2 separate regions of the Homo sapiens genome follow, and region 2 is linked to region 1. Evidence: promoter capture Hi-C in human tissues and cell types (Jung and others, 2019). All regions are on one chromosome and are shown on one strand. Each heading gives the region's core, a stretch centred on a gene start or on the middle of the fragment in contact. The rest is flanking DNA. Distances are from core to core; before and after follow the strand shown.

Region 1 (2,955 bases), core at 146-2,645:
TGGAAAGTTGGGGCTTTCCTTTTGATTTAGTTCTAGAAAGTCAGCATGAATCAGCCGTAAGTTCCTTGCCTCCAGACCCTATTGTCCTGCCTCACAGCTATGTAGTACAGAGTCTGTCACAGGCTACCCAGAAATGTACACAGAGACTGTTAACAGGCTACAGAACAGATTGGGAAAGGGCTCTGGGGTTGTGACCCTCACCAAGCACAGGCATCTTGCATCTCTGACATGTTAATGGTGGATGCCAGCACTCTCACTACTGCCTCGGAAGCTTACCTTGCTGTTAGGGATGGGTTCTCGATCTCTACACTTGCTATACTCCTACAGGTGACCTGGGAGTGTAGCTTTCTGTGCCTTTTTTGACTCATGGCTTCCAGCGGGTACACATGATTAGTTAAACAAGTGTTCAGCATTTCAGCGGCAGCCATTAGACTCTTAACTCAGGTGGGGAATTCTCCAAATACGGAAGGGGATTCAAATGGGGGGCATAATAAATGTATATAAATGTCCATTAAAGGCAAGTTGAGTTGGAAGTGATGACAATATATTTGAGTAGAAACATCTAGCAGGTAGTTGGAAATGTGGCACTCGTGTTCCCCAGAGAGCTAGTTACAGATTTGGGAAGTTGAGTTGTGATTGCTTTTAAAATCAGGAGTCTAGAGAGAATCTAACTCAAAATTTTCATCCACATATGCAGAATCTCAATCTGAGAGTTGTTCATTCCTATAGATGTGCTGGCCACACCAACCCCCAACATCTATTATGAAAATTAGGAAATTCACACTCTATTATGGAAAATAGGAAAAATATATAGATAATACATGCAAAACAAGTGGGAGGAGAGAACTACGGATCGTGGAGAGCCTATTGCATATTATTATTTTACAAATATTTAAGTGCCAACTATGTGTCAGGCACTATGCTAAGGTGATTTAATGTTGAGCAAAACCCGACATGTCCCTGCATTTGAGGAACTGAAAGGTCTGAGGGAGGGCCTAAGGAGCTTGGGCCTTAGCTGGTTACAAAGCCATATATTATGCCATATATATTAATGAGCAGCAACGCCTCCCGCAGTATTTACAGCCCACGCGTGGCAGTCCTGTCCACCCTGTCCCCGTTCGGTCCAGCCCGAGGCGGTGGCCTAGATGCTTGATGGGCACTGTCAGCCTGATCTTTGGTGGTCTTCCCGCTGTCTGTTCTCAGCTGCTGATTCCAGGTCCCAGGAGTCGACTTTGGCTTGAGGAAGGCAGGCGCCTTAGGTGGGGCAGTTGACACTCGCGCAGCGCCTTGCTCACCTGAGTGTGTGGCGGCGCGCGGGTTTGGGCGGGGAGGGGGCCGGGCCTCGGGAAGGAGGCGCGCCGCGCAGTTTGACCCCGGCGGCGTTCCGTACCGTCGCGGATTTCGGCGGCGGAAACATGGCGGTCGCGGCCGGGCCGGTAACGGAGAAAGTTTACGCCGACACTGGCCTGTATTAGCGCGTATGGCCTCGGGCCCTCGTTCCCCAAGGCGTGCCGCCTCCCTGTTCTCAGTCGCAGGCTGAAGCCTTGTCTGCTCTCCTCCTTTTTGGTTTGGTTTTGGAACTGACTCCGAGGGTTGGGAGAGCGCGTTGGTGGCGACGGCCGAGTCAGGTAGGGAGAAATGGGTGGACGGCAGGGCGGCGAGATCTAGGCATAGACACTGCCAGGGCTCCGCGTGGTCCGGACCCCAAGCTCCGCCCAGTCGGCCTCCCAGGGCCGGGGTAGGATACCTGCCTCTGGAGGAGTTGACAGTGGTGGTTGGAGATTGGAGGGTGTGGGAGCGCCTCTCCGTATTTCGCAAGGGTTCCCCCTCAACTGGGCGCCACGTTGTGGTCGCGTTCTCCGAGGCAGAGGATGGTGGAGAACAGCCAAGCTCCTTGTCGGACCTCCCACATCTCGCTAGAAGGAGGCCGAAAGGGAGAGAAATTGCTGTTGCTGCTCTAGTGCTGAGGAGTTTGATATTCTAGATGACATTTTCCTCGTATGAGATGGCTCAAAGAGTTATCAGTAATTCAGAACTGAAGCACTGAAATTCCCTGTTTTTTCAGTGTAGTTCTTTCAGCCTTGACACTTCTAGATGGGACAGAGTTTCTGAGTGAAAGATAATGCAAGTGATACGGTATGCCTCAAGCCATTCCCTAGAGGTAGGACATGGAGAGAGAATTGGTTTGGAAGAATTTGGGTGAATTAAGTAAAGACTGGTGGAAAGCTGAAATAGAAACCAAACATTCATGGACTCTCCCTTAGTTCTACTAGTTATTAGTTGTGGGATATAGCTAAGTTCTGTATTCTCTTTAGGCATTAGTAAGTGTCCAATGGTGACTATTGTTGTTAAATGTAGTTATTTCTTTATTAGTCTTTATTTTTCAACAAGTATTTATTGAATACCTTCTTGATGCCGGATTTTTGCTAGTCACTGGGTGTACAGTATTGAAGACAAACCCTCAGAGACCTTTTGATCTAGTGGGAAATGCAGACATGAAATAAGTGATGGTATGTAACAGAGAAAGTATGGGGGTCATGTAATGGGGAGGGGGCAGGGATAATCTCTTAAGAAAATGATTTATCTGAGACCTGAAGAGTTGGAATAAGCCAGGTGTGAGCACTGGGGTGGGGCCAGGAGGAGGAAAAGGAGTGTACCTGGCAAGGGAATAGCATTTGTGCAGTTTGTAATTGAAAGGTCAGTAAGGTTGGAAAATAAAGTGTGAGAGGAAAACTGGTAACAGATAAGGCAGGAGAGTTATTCAGGCCCAACACGGAGTGCCTTATAAGGCACTGTAAGGAGTTTTGACTTTATTGCTAAGGGTGATGGGACGCCATTGGAGCATTTTACATAGTGGAGTGCTAAATTTTGGTTTTAAAAAGTACACTTCTTAGAGAGGGCAAGAGTGGATACAGGGAAATGTTCAACATGATGGTGGCCAAAATTGGGATGGTG
Region 2 (2,955 bases), core at 124-2,623, 920 kb before region 1:
CAGGAATGAAAATGTTAATGTATGATAGAATGCTATGGTCACACACAGGGAAACTAGAAAAAAAGACCAAACAAAATGTAAATGTTAATTAAAGAAAAAAATAATTTAATGGAAGAGTTAAACAGATTAGGAACTGCTGAAATGGTATTAGTAAGCAAGATGTTGAAGATGAAGAAATCACTCAGTATATGTCAAAGGCAGCATAGAGAGATGGAATTGAAAATATGATTTTATTAGCCAGGATCCTCCAGAGAAACAGAAGCAATATGATCTCTCTCTCTCTCTCTCTCGATAGATAGATATAGTATATATATATATATAGATATATAGTATAGATATATAGATATATAGTATATATATAGATATATAGTATAGATATATAGATATATAGTATATATATAGATATATAGTATAGATATATAGATATATAGTATATATATAGATATATAGATATATAGTATATATAGATATATAGATATATAGTATATATATAGATATATAGTATATATAGATACAGATAGATTTATGCCTCTATCTATATCTAGCTATATAGATATAGATATATCTATAAATATGCCTCTGTGTGTGTATATGCAGATAGATAGATAGATATGCAGATAATTAAGCAAAGAAAGGAGGGAAAATAGTAAACAAAACAAAGTGATAGAAATAAGTCCAAACATGTGAGGGAGAGACAGAAAGATACAGAGAGAAGAGGGAAGGAAACAGATTTATTTTAAGGAATTGGCTTATGCTATTGTGGAAGCTGACAGTCTCAAATCTTCTGGGCAGGCCAGCAGGCTAGAGACCCAGGGAAGAGTCATGTTGCAGTCTTAAGTTGGAAGGTAGTCTAGAGGCAGAATTTCTTCCCTCTCTGAAGATCTTAATCTCTTCTCTTAAGGCCTTTAACTGATTAAGTGAGGCCCATGATATTGTGAAAGATAATCTGCTTTATTCAAAGTCTACTGATTTAAATACTAATCATATCTTTAAAAAATACTTCAAAATCTAAACTTGTTGTTGACCAATACAACTGGGCACTTTAGCATAGCCAAGTTGTCACATAAAATTAACCATCACAATGAGTGCATATTAAGAGATGCCAAAGATAGAGTGAGAAAGTCTCATGTTTATTTGGAAGGTGTTCCAGAAGGAGAGGTAGAGACTAGCAGTGAAGCAATATTTACAGAAATATTGCCTGAAAGTCTGTCCAAATGTAAGGGAAAAAAATAAAATTTTTGATTTAAGTGGCACACAAATTCAGAGCAAGAAAATGCAATTAATTCCACAATGAGTGGGTTATTATGAAACTGCAGAACATAAAAATAAAAAGAAAACATTTAAAGGTTTCAAAAGAAAAGACACATCATCTACTAAGGAAAGGTAAGCAGAATAAAAACTGTTTTTTACCATCAAGAGCTACCACAGGTAGTGGAAAAATACTTTCAAAGGACTCAGGAGAAATGATTGAACAAATGGACTTTTATACCCAGCTAAATGATTGATGAAGAATAAAGGCAAAATAAAGGCATATTTTTCAGACAATATCTGAGAGCTTTTCAGTTTGTGGATTTTACTGAAAGAAAAATTAACTGATACATTTAAGTATCTACAAAAGAGGATTCTGATGAAAAAAAATGATGATGCACAAAGTGATTTTCCCTAAAGAAATTTTAAACATTTTAATAAAACTCAGTAAGCTTTGATTGCAAAAAGTATCTGGTTTTGAGGACTTCCAAAGCAAGTAGTATCTAAAATACTGGACAGCTACCCTTAAAGAGGGGAGTATGTTAAAAAATAAATTGTTCTAATGTTTTTGAAAGGACAGAGATATTATTGAATGTTCTACTTTGTTATGTCAAGAATGGATGTTAAAAATAAAAGGACAACTGCTAAAGAAAATGAAAATAAAATACATAATTTCTAAGCTAGTAGAAGAATAAAAGGGAAATTACAAAACAAGCAGAAAGTTAAGCAAGAAAGGATGTAAAATCGTAAAAAAAAGATGACAGATGTCCAAATACATGCTAATAATCACAAAAATGTAACCGAATTAATAAAATATAGATTTTAAGATTAAATTTATTTTTGTTCTAGCTTTGTTTCCTGACAGCATCTAAGCATTAAAACACAGAAAGGCTGAAAGTAAAGTGATGATGAAACATACACTGAAAAATACTAAAGAAAAGGAAACTAGTGTTGCTATGTTAATTTCAAATAAAGTCAACTTTAAGGCAGATGATAATCACCTTATGACTAGCCCCTTGAGTCATCTTAAGTAACTAAATTTATATTCACTGGAAGAGAACTACTAACAGAACTTATCAAGCCACCAACTTCTGGAGACTATGACAGATTCTCAGGAAGCTGTCTGGACAGTATCTTAGGGAATGTCATTCTGTTACTAAATATTTTAATATTAGTACTTGGGTAGATAGTTATTCTAGGACAGCGTGATGCATTTGGATACTTTGTCAGCCCAGGGCTTACCCTCTGGTTTGGAAAACCAAACTGATTTAAAAAAAGGCGTAACTAAAAAATAAAAAGGAAAAGGCCACATAGAGGATTTTGACTAAATGACAGATATTCTATGTGTCTGAGACATTTGGATTAGTGCCTAGTTGACCCAGTAAGCTATTATGCAAATCCTACAAGTTCCATTCACCTTAAGTAAGTGCATGCTTTCTGAGGGACTCCTGGTTGCAATTCAGTTTATGACCACTAGATGGCATGTTGCCTTTTTGCAAAGAGCAAACGTCGCAGACCTGTCAAGTAGCCTTAAGAAGGAAAATTACTGAATAAATAGATAGATAGAAAGGTAATTGTGGATAATGGAAGATGGATAGAGAGAGAGAGAGAGAGACACTGTATAGATAGAAAGGTAATTGTTGATAATGGGGGGTAGACTCTGTCATGAATTAAAATTAATTATTATCTACTTAGAGATAAACTATT

The links. Contacts are between HindIII fragments. The study calls those that stand out against the background at their distance.
Region 2: a contact is called between a fragment that was not itself captured here and the fragment with the promoter of TMEM168 in region 1, in 1 of the 25 tissues and cell types used here (dorsolateral prefrontal cortex).

Annotation. Positions count from the first base shown.
Region 1 is chr7:112,788,833-112,791,787 of GRCh38, reverse strand. It overlaps TMEM168 (transmembrane protein 168), which reads left to right and starts at 1,395. Exons shown (of 5, transcript NM_022484.6): 1 at 1,395-1,628. RefSeq lists an enhancer at 1,007-1,136. The HindIII fragment of the contact is 15,678 bases long and covers 1-2,955 here.
Region 2 is chr7:113,710,252-113,713,206 of GRCh38, reverse strand. No RefSeq gene overlaps it. Among named protein-coding and RNA genes, the nearest start is that of PPP1R3A, 210 kb to the left of the region's middle. The HindIII fragment of the contact is 3,767 bases long and covers 1-2,955 here.